Linked DNA regions of Homo sapiens: region 2 is linked to region 1. The links are contacts of gene promoters, found by promoter capture Hi-C in blood cells and fetal thymus (Javierre and others, 2016). All regions are on one chromosome and are shown on one strand. The core of a region is centred on a gene start or on the middle of the fragment in contact, and the rest is flanking DNA. Distances in the headings are between cores, read along the strand shown. Region 1 holds the start of SV2C (synaptic vesicle glycoprotein 2C). Region 2 overlaps IQGAP2 (IQ motif containing GTPase activating protein 2).

Region 1 (7,111 bases), core at 2,951-5,450:
GAGTGATTTGGCATATACCTGGGCCATCACGGGCAGCAGCAAAGCAGATTTCACTGGCAAAGAGGTACTGCTTCTCAGAGGCTGAGATGGGGGCATATTATGAGAAATAGTCAAACTAAAATCAAAGATGGTCACTATGGTAGAGATTGACCAAATGGTGATTGATGGATGTAAGAAATATATGCAAAAAACATGTGGTGATGTTGTAGACAATCTTAAAGGAGGCTGCTATCAGGCTCTGATAGAAGACTGCATTCCAATACTGAAGAGGCACACCAAAGAAGGGAGAGAATTGGATTGTGTGACTAACGATTTGACAGCTGTTCCAATCTCCACATCTCTGGAACAAGATTCCATGTGGGAGTTTCTCAGACTGATTTTTGACCCATGAATGAATGTATTGAAACAGGATGGGAAATATTTTACACAGGCAAACTGTGTCAATCTGACAGAAGCCCTGCCACTCTATGAAGAACAGCTTGGGTGCCTGTATTGCCTTGTGGAATTCTCAAAGGAGATCGTCTATGTCCCTTCAAACTTCGAATTGTGGGTATTTTACGCTGTCTGGAAGAAAGCTAAACCCTGAAGATGAATATCCCTTAATCACAGGTGCTGCAAATGGCCTTTTTCACTTCCATATGCTGTACATGACATTGAAACAAGTCAGGCAATTGATTGTGAATTCCTTGAAGTTTTCTTTTTAATTATTATTTTTAATTTTAAAAAGCAAATGGCAAATGTATATTTTGATGAGCTTAGGGTGTTTTTTTTTTTGAAAGCCAGCTGAAGGATGGTTCAACAGCACAGCAAAGACTGCCAAATGCACTAACACCCTAGAATGTGATTTTTGTTACTTTTTATTTCTCCGTGGGCTTTGTTTTTTTGTTTTGGTTGTGATAGACTTTCAATTTGGATGTTTGGAGGAATGAACATCATTGTTTTGTTCTGGAGGGAAGTTCTTGGTGGTGTTTCTTTCACCCAATATTGACTTAGATATTAAAATGTGGTGCTTATAAGACAGAGTTTAAAAAAAATGAATAGTAATACTTCGATTAAAATTACAAAAGAGACAAAAAATAGTTTTGAGTGTTGTGGAAGCTGAGTGTTGGGGTAAGAAGAGTAGGTGTCTGCACTTTGCTATAGACTCCTGATGATAGTGAGGAGAAGTGGAGAGCTGTGTGGACTTGGTCCAAGAGTATGGGGCTGTCTTCAGACATCTGCTGTGGAAGCCAGGTGTAACTCTGACTTTCCAGAGCATCTTACAAAACCAGTTCTCCAAAGCGCAGGCTTTGGAAAACCTTGCCCTGACTACTAAAAGAGGAAGAGCAACTGACATTTATTCTATACCCATTGTGTACTAGGCACTGTGCTTCTTGTGTATATTATAAAATATAACCACTATAGCATCTGTACTTAGTGTGAATTATTTTTATGAAAACCACTTTGCTGATGCGAAAACAGACCTCTCATGCTCATTAGGTGTCTTTCACAGCTTGTTTTTTAGCATCACAAGACGACACCCTGCATTGAGGAACAAAAGTCCTGAGGTGTAGGAGAGCAATGACTTTAGAGTACTGGGATTCTGTGGGGATGGAGGGTATACCCCTTTTCACTCCATCCGCTTCTACAAGACAAGTGTTTTCAGAAGAGAGAAAACATTTCATTATAATGAAGGCATGAATAAAACTAGTCTGAGTGCTGGATCCAAGGGGCCTGGGGCCAAGGTGTGTGCCAGGCAGGACCCTAGAACCAGAACTGCTTTAGAGGGCAAGTCCAGGAACCAGGGCACAACATCATCATGACACAATGTTTCATGTCCTCCAAAGACACAACGTTAAAATAGCCTTTTCCAGTGCAACCTGGTCTTAAATGGGATGTTTCAGGCAAAATCACAATCAGGGATTTTCCTAAAGGAGCTGTTACCTTCAAATGCATCAAGACACGAAAATCCAGAAGTAGAAAAATCAACCCACTTTAAAAAAATATCTTCCACGGACAAGATAGGAGAATAATTTAAGGAAGATACAGCATAGCATAAAGAACGTTGATCACGTTTAAAGTTTGTTTCATGGTTTTCTGAACTTCCATCACTTGGAGAAACAATCCATTATTCTGCAACAGTTTAGGGGAGGTTCTCAAAAAGGTAACCGTTTGAGAACTCAGTGAATTGCCAGCACATTTTGCAGTTGGAAGCTCAAATTTTTATAAATAACATGCGGGGAATCCAGATAGGATTTATTTTTTAATTTCACAATTGTATTTCCAATGCTGGATTCATAGGCACTTCCTTGTCATAGTAGCAGCACATTAATTTTAGCCTAAATAATTATTTAAATTATTTAACTATTTAAATTATTTAACTATTTAAATAATTATTTTACTAAGAAGAATCCACGAAATGAAAATGAGCACGTTCACTAATTTTCATATTGCCTGACCATCTCATAGCACCATGGTCACAGACTGCAAAGCCTCTCACCGGAACAAGACAGACCAGCAAGGAAGTGTAGGTTCAACAGCACATGAGAATCATAACTTTTAGTGCCAGAGTGTCTGAACCAGAGAGGAGGGAAAATGAGAGGCCAAGAGTTGTCTCCATTTTCTTCTCTTCACAGTATCCTGCATAGTGGCACAAATCGAACTGGAAAGCCCAAGCTAACAACACCGCCCTGGGCGAACCGCCTGTCTCCACCGGCTCCTCTGGGCAGGAGGCTCCAGCCTGGGGGTGCCTGACAGCTCTCCTTCCCCGGCGCCTGTATTATACATGTAACATTTATATTTCTATCCACACAGCGTTCATTCAGCCATCCATTCAATCACCCAGGCATATTTACACGGATGGAACACATTCGCGGAGAGATGTGTGTGTTTGAGTTCCAATCACTGCAGCCCGTATTGGCGCGGCGCTTTGTCTCGCTTTGGGTCACCACCACAGGAGCAACGATTTCGGGGACGGCACACGCCTGTGTGACCGCTTCCCACTCCACTTGGGTTCCGTGAGCGCGCGGAGCCGGAGGAGTCAGGGACGTGAGGATGCCCTACTTCCCGCAGCATCCGGATGGCAGGGTCTGCGTCGGAAGGCCCGGGAGGGCGACGCCCTCCACTGCTGCCGCGGGGTGGGTGCGCCAGGCCTGGGTGTGGCCTCACGGGAGCGAGTTTCTCTCCAGCCGCCTGGCCCACCGCTTTGGAACAGTGAAGCTCGAGTTGGGGTCTCCTGCACGCCAAGGGGAGAAATGTTTGTTTCTGACAACACAAGCAAAATTCTCTCTCCTGCACGCCAAGGGGAGAAATGTTTGTTTCTAACAACACAAGCAAAATTCTCTCTCTCTCTCCCTCTCTCTCTCTCTTCTCTCCTCTCTCTTTCTCCCTCCTCCTCCTTTCTTTCTTTCTCTTTTTCTTTCTTTCTTTCTTTCTTCCTCCTCCTCCTCTCTCTCTCTCTATCTCTCTCTCCACCCCCCCCCCCTCATATTTGGTTGTTTCCCCTCTAAGGGGCCACTTTCAATATCTGCCTGTGAGCCCAGCTGTCTGGCCCTATGTAGCATTGGGGAGACAGTAGACTTAACCCAGCGAAGTTTTCTTCTGTTTGCTCTTGCTGTGCCCAAGTTTCCTCTGGACTTGTCTTCCAGCGTCGGGGTGGGGGCTGGGGGAAGTAGGCAACCTAGCTCTGCCTGGTTGCTCCCTGGAAGCCAAGTCGAAGTGAACAAGTCAGTCCCAGGCCCGGAAATAGAATACAAACCCTCTTTTTGTCCGGTGCTAACAGAGTCCAGCAGTCAGAACTCCCTCGCGTCTCACGCTGGACCTGACCCGGGGCGCCGCCAAGTGCGCAACGCACAGTCACAGTTGGTGACTAATTAAGGACTGCCGCCCCTCTCCTTCACCTGCTACAAACTCAGAGCCCTGACTTCTCCAGAAGTACCTACCACTTGGAGGTGGCTCTCCTTCCCCGCCCCCTGCCCCAGTCCCACACCGCAGCAGCGCCTCAGCACCGCGACTTGCCGGAGCACCGCGAGTGGCGCGCGGGTCCCGCCTCCCCCGCGCGCCGTGACTCCCTGCGCACCGCTGGTACTCTCGCCACGCCGCCGCCCGGCACTGCAGCACCAGGGGGAGGAGGCAGGCGGAGGAGAGGAGGAGGACCGCAGCGTGCAAGCCGGGAGCCACTTTCCCGCCCCTCCTCTCGCCGCTGACACGCTCAGAGGAGTCACCACTCCGCGCGCTGCAGGCGAGAGTGGCAGACGGAGGCAGCCCGGGGAAGCGAGCCGGAGCGGCGCCCGCACTGAGGCGGCTGCAGTGCTGACACCACTCAGGGCAAGGGTGTCCGACGGCTGGAGCGGTGAGTGGGGGAGGTGAAGCGGGCATCCGCGGGGAGACTTTCCCCCGCTGCTGGATTTCTCTTCCCGACTGGTGGCCGGGCGCTGCAGCCTGGGGAAGTTTTTGCAGCCTTTCGGAAGCGCAACTTTGCCCCGCCTGCCCCCGGGGAAGCGGCTGCAGGTGCCCGCTGCTTTGTAGGCGCCTTTGTTGGAGAGGGACCAGGAAAGTAGGGGTAAAATAGATGCAGTGACCCCAGGGTTCGCTAGGGTAGGTCTGGGGACTGGGTCGCACTTTATCTGGGATTCCCAGAGGAGGTGGGTGGGCAGCAGCGGGGATGCAGGGGCCGCATCTGCAGCGACCGCCACGCTCTTTTTTGCTTGTGTGGTTTGACCGGCAGGGATAGGCAGATTCAAATCTAGCAGCCTAGAGCCCCGGGCTGGGTACCTGGACCTATACCTTCATAGCTGCCTTAGGCTCAACTTTTCGGCGGGGATCCCTCTGCAGACGTGCAGGTGGCGGGAGAGCAGAGGTAGCCGCAGTAAGTGCTGAGAGAGCCTGAAAGAAACACCATGAATTTTCAAACTCTCCCACATACATTCCCGAAGCGCCTGTCTGGCGTCTAAGAGAGAGCAAGAGAGGGCTGGAGAGCAGGGGAGCCCGCGGGGCTGAGGCTCTTTGTCAGCGCCTGCACTTCCTACGTTACAACGCCTTCATTCAGCAAAAACCTTTTGGGCGCCTGCTGTGCGCCAGGCCAGGCGAAGCAGACCCGAGGCTGTGAAGCTCAGAGGGGAGAGGGACCAATCGCAGTAAATAAGCTACCGAGGTAATCTTAGATGGCGATGAGGGCAGCAAAAGCCATCAGCCGACCCTCTGACCCTTTCTCTTAGTGGGCTTTTCCCCTTCCGCCTGGGTTCTAGAACTGGGAAGACTTTTCTCCAGAGCGTCGCGGGGAGCGCCCCGGGCTGGGCCCACGGGGACTGCGGAATACGGGGATGAACTTGGCTTGGGGCAGCCAGCACCCCACGGCAGATGAACAATCGGGAGCAGATCTGTGGGCGTGCGGGGACCTTAGGCGGCGCGCGGGGGCGGGGGGAGGGGCTGAGCCACGGGGGCTAGAGGTGCCGCCTGGACGGCCTGAGCTGGGGGCGCTCGCGTCACCTTCTACGTGTGCGAGTGATGCAAATGCAGACCCGCGAGGGGCGGGCGGGGGTGGCGGGCGGGGGCAGGCGACGGAGTCTCCGTCTGGGAGCGCGCGTGTGTGCGTCAAAAGCTCTGGGTTGATGGATGCCCCGCGGCGCGCCTGGCGCGGAGAGCGGCGACCCGGCGGGGCAGAGGGGGGCGGGAGGACTGCGGCGGCGCGGGGCGGCGAGGAAAGCCCCGCACGGCCTGGGCTGGCGGGCAGGCGGCTCCGCAGTGCGCCGCAGTGCCGGGAAGGAGCCGCAGCTACCGGGCGCTCCCCGGGGGACCGAGGAGATGAGGCGTCTTTTAAGGCTCATGAGAGCCTTAAGGAGATGAGACCGGGATGCCGTGATGGTCTCCTCTCCCGCTGAACCTAATCCCTTCATACTTAGCTGACTGCTAGCGCGGTAGCTTCCGTTTAATTCTTATCCTTAATTCTGAAGAATGTGGCATTAATCTCTCAGGCGTTCACTCATTTTCCATGGCAAGTTCCGAAAGGCCTCGTGCTCGTGGGAAGTTTTCATGTGAACGCCTAGGTGTTGAGGTTCGTGAGGTTCTGTAGTGCCAACCCGTTGCGCCACCATTCTGCAGGATTTTTGGCAGGAGGCCTGGCCTCTAAGTGAGGTTTAAGAATGTCTTACAAAACAATATGCCGCATTCCTCTTTCATGGCATAAAAATACGCGTTAAAAAACACTACTGATAACGCATTCTCTGGTGGAAAATAATAAATCAAATCCACGATCCATTTTATTCTTTTTTTTAAAGACCACTTTCTGGAAACCCAGTGACAAAGTTTTTCTACTGGCTTTACTGAAGGAGCCCAAATCTGCAGTATGTAGGCAAAATGAATGAAAGGGGACGGGGTTGGGAAAAAAGAAAGAAAGGAAGGGAGGGAGGAAGAAAAGCAATTATCAAGGAACCCAGAGACACAGATGCTAGTCACCATTTCCCCAAATATTGTGTTATGTCACCTTGGGCAGGTTACTCACCCTCTTGGGTTCATCTTCCACCTCTGAGAATTGTGAAAAATAGCTTATACTAGCTCTTATGTACCTTACAGGGTTGTTTTGAAGACAAAAGAGATAATCTCAGAGAGCTTTGGCTTTGGAAATACAAATTTTCCATGAATGGAAAATATTAGCAAACAAAGCCCCTACACACACACACACACACACACACACACACACAGAATTTTCTTTTAAAAAATTCTAGAGACTTTTCCCAGCATTGTTTTTTTAATGAAATTTGGCCCTCAATGTGAGCAAATGCAGACAGCAGACTTTTCCTAACAGTCTAATATGTAATCCAATGCCATTAGCTACTGACTGTCTGGAGAAGGAAAAAAAGAAGCTCTGGATCACATCTGAGTGTTTTGTTCATGTAGTGGAGAAATCAGCTTTATTTTTCATGACCCAATGACAGTGAAAGTAGCTTCTCTGATCTGAGCAGCAGACTGGCCTAACAGCTTGTAGTAAAACTCCTATTCATTATTAACCCTATCATATTCCTTAAGTGTGGAAATGCTTCAAATAATAGGATCCAGTTCCCAGTCTCCAGGAGATTACGGCAAAGGCATCATAATGTGCAATATATCACGTGACGACAAGTACCAGAAAACCCAT
Region 2 (7,111 bases), core at 1,336-3,835, 470 kb after region 1:
TATTTTGTGGTTAGAGCATGTGCACAGTGTAGACAAACCCAGGAAGGAGAATCTGCTTCATCAAGTCTTAAGTTGTTATTTAGACCAAAATGTATGCGTAAGCCTCAGATGACTGTTGATGTGCCAGGAAACTTCTGCTGAGTACTTTCGGTTCTTTCTTCTTTACTTTACCTCTGCACCCCAGCTCATGGTTATCTTGTAAAACTGAAGGTGCTTTGCACTGCAAACAGACATGACAGCTCAGTCTCCCCTGTAGCAAGTTCTAGGGAAGGCAGGTTGGCAGAGTCCCATTTTTGAGCTCAGTTCTCCAAGGCCCTTTGGTCAGCTTATTTTCCTGCAGGGTGTCACATCCCACAGTAGTCTCCACCTGGAAGACATTGGATCTCATATGTTCAGATCAGTGTAGCCACGCTGCTCTGTGGAGAACAGTGTGATAAATCCTTGGTAGCATTACGCTTTAAACTGGTGGCCACTTGCCTACCTCCTTTTAATTTCATTTTGTTAACAATTGTTTCTTGAGGACCTGTTGCATGCTGGGTGCTTTTTTCCTGGGTGATTTCACATTTAGCATCTGTTTTCATTCTCATGACTTCTCTGTGAGGTAGCAAGTATTGTACCCAGTTTTCTGATAGAGGAAATTGTGGCCCAGAGAGATTGTTGTACCCCAAAGTAATGAAGATGAATACAGTTGCAGAACCAAGTTAGAAGCCAGATTTTTGGAGATCCAAGGTCCAGTGAACACAGCTGTACCCCCACAGACACTTCCGAAAGTGACCACAGCCTCTTCAGCCAGTCCTGAAGAGTATGTTCACCTTCATCTGTCTTAAAGCACAGGCACACCTGGCTTTGGGAAAGCATAGTTTATCAAGATCTGAATTGGCTCATTTTAGTTTTAGAAAAGGTTTCACCTAAGGCTTCTGCTTAAGAAGAGAGCATTCCTAGGAAGTGAGCTTAAGCCCTGTTCACCCTATTAATCTTAAGTGATTTGTCAGAGCAGAGTGGCAGAGAGGTGTCCTGCAGAGGTGACAACCTGAATTTAAATCACAGCTCAGCCGCTTACTAGCTGTGTAATCTTGAGCAAATTACTTAACTCTCTGAGCCTCTTCTTCCTTCTCTATTAAAGGGGAGTGATATCAATCTCATCAGATTAGTGTGAGAATACATTCATATAAGTGCCAAGTACCTGCTAAGTGCTAGTCCATGTGCTAAGTAAATGTGAGCTGCAATTGTTTGCCATTGGCATTATCAGTAGAGTGGGAGTCTCATTATAGCAGAAACCTGGCTCTCCTGAACATATGTAAATATTTACATAGCCCCTACTAAATGCCATTTAAGAGTGTATCTAGTGTAAGGCAATAGGATGTGTTTAGCAGGAGGAGTGGATTTGTTCAGGGGGTGCAACAGACTGGGATGGGAGAAGAAGGCATGTTTGATAGTCAAAATGCTGGCATACTTCCTGCGCAAGGAAGTCTGTATGGCTAAACAGTGCTGAACTAAACAAATACTGCTGAAGGTCAGGTGTGAACAGTGAATCATATTGGCGGGGCATGGTCTGGGATATGGTGGTGAGCAGTAAAAACTACAATAGCTACCATGAAAGGTACCTACTATATGCCAGGCACTGTTCTAGTGCTTTTCTCCTATTAGCCCTTGGAAGCAGTTCTATTATTATCCCATTTTGTAGATTAGGAAACAGACTCAGATTAATTCAGTTACCCAAGGGGCACGTAACTGGTAAGTGGCAGAGCTTTGGTTCAGTCTCAGGCGTCGAGCTCTGGAGTGTGTGTGTGTGTGTGTGTGTGTGTGCTTTCAACCATTGTGTTAGATGCCTCTCAAGACAGATAAGGTCCTTGCTATTGTAGAATTCACAGTCTAACTGAGTGAGCCAGTCAAACTAATAAGTATTATATCTAGTCTGCCAGGTAGTAATAAATGCAGTGAAGAGAAAATTGGGTGAGGAATTTTAGAGGATGATGGGAGTTGATGTTTTAGCTAGTGTATTAGTTTGTTCAGGCTGCCATAAACAAAATACCACAGATTGGGAGGCTTAAACAACAGAAATTTACTTTCTCACAGTTTTGGAGGCTGGAAATCCAAGAGCAAGGTGTCAATGTGTTTGGTTTCTTCTGAGGCCTCTGTCCTCGGCTTTGCAGATGGCCCTTTCACTATGTCCTTCTGTCTTCCCTCTATGAGCGTTCAGCCCTGGGAGCTCTCTGTGCCCTGATCACCTTTTCTTATAAGGACAGTAGCCACACCTAATCACCTCATTTTAACTTAACCATCTCTTTAAAGGCCCTGTCTTCAAATACAGTCTCATTTTGAGGTATTAGGGGTTAGGACTTCAACATATAAATTTGGGGAGGGGAACACAGTTCTGACCATAACACTCTGCCCTCTGCACCCCCAAAATTCATGTCCTCCTCACAGCAAAATACATTCACCTGCATTCAACAACCTAAGCCTTAACCCATTCTAGCATCAATTCTAAGTCCCAAATCTCATCTAAATATCATCTACATCAAAGTGAGAGAGACTCAAGTATATGATTCATCTTGAGGCAAAAATTCTTCTCCAGCTGTGAACCCGTGAAACCAGACAAGTTATTTGCTTCCAAAATACAATGATGGGGACAGGCTTAGGATAGACATTTCCATTCCAAAAGGGAAAACTTGGAAGGAAGAAAAAAGGGTCATGGGTCCAAAGCAAGTCCAAAACCTAGCTGGGCAAATTATGTTCAATTTTAAGGCCTGAAAATAATTCTTTTTACATGATGATCTGTCCTCCAGGCCCATTGGGCTGGCAGAATTTTTTTTTTTTTTTTTTCAGTATTTATTGATCATTCTTGGGTGTTTCTCGGAGTGGGGGATTTGGCAGGGTCATAGGACAATAGTGGAGGGAAGGTCAGCAGATAAACATGTGAACAAGGGTCTCTGGTTTTCCTAGGCAGAGGACCCTGCTGCCTTCCGCAGTGTTTGTGTCCCTGGGTACTTGAGATTAGGGAGTGGTGATGACTCTTAAGGAGCATGCTGCCTTCAAGCATCTGTTTAACAAAGCACATCTTGCACCGCCCTTAATCCGTTTAACTCTGAGTGGACACAGCACATGTTTCAGAGAGCACGGGGTTGGGGGTAGGGTCACCGATCAACAGGATCACAAGGCAGAAGAATTTTTCTTAGTACAGAACAAAATGGAGTCTCCCATGTCTACTTCTTTCTACACAGACACAGTAACAATCTGATCTCTCTTTCTTTTCCCCACATTTCCCCCTTTTCTATTTGACAAAACCGCCATCGTCATCATGGCCCGTTCTCAATGAGCTGTTGGGTACACCTCCTAGACGGGGTGGCGGCCGGGCAGAGGGGCTCCTCACTTCCCACACGGGGCGGCCAGGCAGAGGCGCCCCTCACCTCCCTCCCGGATGGGGCGACTGGCCGGGCGGGGGCTGCCCCCCACCTCCCTCCCGGACGGGGGTGGCTGGCCGGGCAGAGAGGCTCCTCACTTCCCGGACGGGGTGGCTGCCGGGCGGAGGGGCTCCTCACTTCCCAGACGGGGCGGCTGCGGGGCGGAGGGGCTCCTCACTTCTCAGATGGGGCGGCCGGGCAGAGACGCTCCTCACCTCCCAGACGGGGTGGCGGTCGGGCAGAGACGCTCCTCACCTCCCAGACGGGGTCGGGGCCGGGCAGAGGCAATCCTCACATCCCTCACATCCCAGACGGGGCGGCGGGGCAGAGGCGCTCCCCACATCTCAGATGATGGGCGGCCGGGCAGAGATGCTCCTCACTTCCTAGATGGGATGGCAGCTGGGAAGAGGCACTCCTCACTTCCCAGACTGGGCGGCCGGGCAGAGGGGCTCCTCACATCCCAGATGATGGGCGGCCAGGCAGAGACACTCCTCACTTCCCAGACAGGGTGGCGGCCGGGCAGAGGCTGCAATCTCGGCACTTTGGGAGGCCAAGGCAGGCGGCTGGGAGGTGGAGGTTGTAGCGAGCCGAGATCACGTCACTGCACTCCAGCCTGGGCAACATTGAGCACTGAGTGAGCGAGACTCCGTCTGCAATCCCGGCACCTCGGGAGGCCGAGGCAGGCAGATCACTCGCGGTCCAGAGCTGGAGACCAGCCCAGCCAACACGGCGAAACCCCGTCTCCACCAAAAAATGCAAAAACCAGTCAGGCGTGGCTGCGCGTGCCTGCAATCCCAGGCACTCTGCAGGCTGAGGCAGGAGAATCAGGCAGGGAGGTTGCAGTGAGCCGAGATGGCGGCAGTACAGTCCAGCCTCCGCTGGGCATCAGAGGGAGACCTTGCAAAGAGGGAGACGGGAGAGGGAGACGGAGAGGGGGAGGGGGAGGGGAGGGGGAGGGGAGGGGGAGGGAGAGGACTGGCAGAATTTCTTCAAGGCCCCAGGTGGCAGCCTTGCTTTTGAGGCCTTGGACAATGACAGCCTCACCCTCTCACACTGAGACAGAGAGAGCCTCACCCTTTGAAATGGAAGAGAGCCTTCCTCGCCCCTGGGCCTGAACACTTTCGTTGTGGGGTGAGAGTAGTAGCTTTAGGGACCATTCTTCCTTTTTCTTGAAGGATAATACATGCTCACACCCAGAGCCAGATAGATCTATTGTCCCATCCTGTAGCATCTCAGAAGCCTGCTGCTGTTGTGTCCTGTCTCTGTCCCCTTTAGTCCAAGTCAGCAGTGTTTCTGCTACTGGTAGAACCCCGTCTCTATTCCTGGCTTCTGTTGAGATGGCCAATTAGATCTGTGAGTCCCACTGTCACTCTTTAGGGAGTGATTGTCCAGTCACACTGTTGGTGCCCTCTCCAGAACACATTCTCATTTTTTTGCAATATGGATAAGCTGAGAATTTTCCAGATCTTTAAGTTCTGGTTTGTTTAGCCTAACAATTTTTTCTTTAATTTCTCTCACTTCTCTTGCACTTTAATAGAAGCAGTAAGGAGAAAGGAAAGTGGCAAGGAAAGCACAACAGGCTTTCAACACTTGGCTTAGAAATCTCAGCAGAATATCCAAGGTTGTCACTTACAAGCTCTACCTTCCACAAAACACAAAAATGCAATTCAGCAATGTTCTTGGCCATTTTATAACAAGGATTGCCTTTTTTCAGTGTCTAATAACATGTTCCTCATTTCTGTCTAAAATCTCACTAGAATCACCTTTCATGTCCATATTTCTAGCAACAGTCTCTCTTAGCATCTGAGACAACGTTCTGTGGAACACAGTTTGGGGAAGCTTGCCAAACTCAACAGATTATACTATATCATCTCCCCCTGAAAGAGAAGAGTGAGACATAAGTCCTCTGCAGTCTGTTCCACTCCTACTAGATCTTGAAGTCATATGTTGATTCTTTTCATGGTATTGTGTGCCTGTGTTTTAAGGAAAATAATTAGCATTCTTAAAGCAAAGCAAAAATTTTACTAAAGAAAATAATTAGCCTTTCATGTCACTTTCTTAGAGTGAACCAAATAAGTTTTGTATGAGAGAAAGATAGGGGCCCGTAGATGCCCACTTTAGTTTTGCAGGGTGGGTTCCTACAGCCACGTTCCCCTGGGCTAATAAGGCTAATGGAATCATGGTGGCAGTTTTGCATTGGCCTCCAGCTAATGAAAAGTTTTGCCATGAGAACTTAACTTAGTCCTTCTGATGCTTTTACTGCCTGTTGACACAGAAGGTGGAAAATGACCAACTATGCTATACATAAAAACAAAGTCCAGATATTCTTATATTCTTTTAGAATATGTCTTATGTGCTGATTTTTAAAATATTAAGGGAAAAATTGACTTGTGATACTTGAAAGTTCATAGAACAGGGCACTGCATTAAAACAGGGCTTATGCAAATAAAACACATTTTTCTGTTCTTGGCCAGCAGTTCTACCGTCAGGATACTTATTCCATACAGCACTGTATGATACAGACCAAGATTTATAGTTGGTGATTTCCTGAGTAACAACTCAGATAGCAAATGCCTCCACAAAACAACTTTCGTATGTTCTGCAAGGCACAAAGTAGTACAATAGAAAGGATTGTTTGCTTCAGGATTTTTGTGGGGTGGTTTCTTTTTCTTTTTCTTTTTTCTCCCACAAGACAGAATTTTTCTTCTTGCCCTAAAATTTGAAAGATTTCTCCTTTCTCTCCCCTTCTGCCACAAGTAGTCCCACCCTAAAAAGGAAGATGAGGTTCTCTAGCAACCCATAAGATGCTCATAAGAAATAGCTTAAACTTTTGCTTTGAAACAAGACATTCACATATTGGGGTTGTGGGCCAATAAACTAGTCAATAGAAAGAATGGGGAAGAAGCAGTGAATGCAAGGACAGTGTTGGTGGGGAAGGGGGAATATTCTGGTTTTCGTTTCTGTGGATTTTTAGGCCAAATTTGAACACAGGCTCTTGATGACACATGAAGTATCTCTAACTTGATTTTATGTATGCACACTTTATGTACTATCTGTACATAAGTCATAGACATATAGATTGGACTAGAATTTAGAGTTCAGAAATGAACACTCACTTGTACAGTCAGTTAATTTTCAATAAAGGTGCCAAGACAGTTCAACAAAGGTAGTCTTTTCAACTGGTGGTGCTGGGACAACTGGGTAGCCACATGCAAAAGAATGAAGTTAGACTCTCACCTCACATCATATACAGAAAGTAGTTCAAAATGGATCAAAGACCTAAACTATGAGATAAAAGAGAAGAAAACATAGGTATAAATATATAACATATAAAATACCAAAAATATAAACAACAAAAGAAGAAATAGATAAATGAGACTTCATCAAGATAAAAACATTTTTGCTTCAGATAACACCATTAAGAAAGTGAAAAGACGGCTCACAGAATGGAGGAAACACTTTCAAATCATATACCAAATAAGAATCTTGTATACTGAATATGTAAGGAACTCTTATAACTCAAAAGTAAAAAGACAAATAATTCAACTAAAACATGAGCAATAGATTTGAAAGACATTTCTCCAAAAGTATATAAATGGGCTATATGCATATAAAAAGAAGCTGAATATCATTAGCCATCAGGGAAATGAAAATCAAAACCATAATGAGATGCCACTTTGCATCCACTAGGATGGCTGTAATCAAAAAGA

Evidence for each region. The method cuts DNA at HindIII sites, captures the fragments that hold promoters and counts their contacts. A CHiCAGO score of 5 or more calls a contact.
Region 2: a fragment that was not itself captured here is called in contact with the fragment with the promoter of SV2C in region 1 in 1 of 17 cell types (naive CD4 T cells); the score reaches 5.8 in naive CD4 T cells.

Annotation. Positions count from the first base shown.
Region 1 is chr5:76,079,183-76,086,293 of GRCh38, forward strand. It overlaps SV2C (synaptic vesicle glycoprotein 2C), which reads left to right and starts at 4,201. Exons shown (of 13, transcript NM_014979.4): 1 at 4,201-4,330. It overlaps SV2C-AS1 (SV2C antisense RNA 1), which reads right to left and starts at 4,235. Exons shown (of 2, transcript NR_183290.1): 1 at 3,737-4,235; 2 at 2,224-3,214. It also overlaps the pseudogene LOC100132039. RefSeq lists an enhancer at 3,012-3,565. The HindIII fragment of the contact is 14,928 bases long and covers 1-7,111 here.
Region 2 is chr5:76,547,542-76,554,652 of GRCh38, forward strand. All of the region lies in intron 2 of IQGAP2 (IQ motif containing GTPase activating protein 2), which reads left to right. Among named protein-coding and RNA genes, the nearest start is that of F2RL2, 72 kb to the right of the region's middle. RefSeq lists an enhancer at 1-318. The HindIII fragment of the contact is 5,305 bases long and covers 1-5,238 here.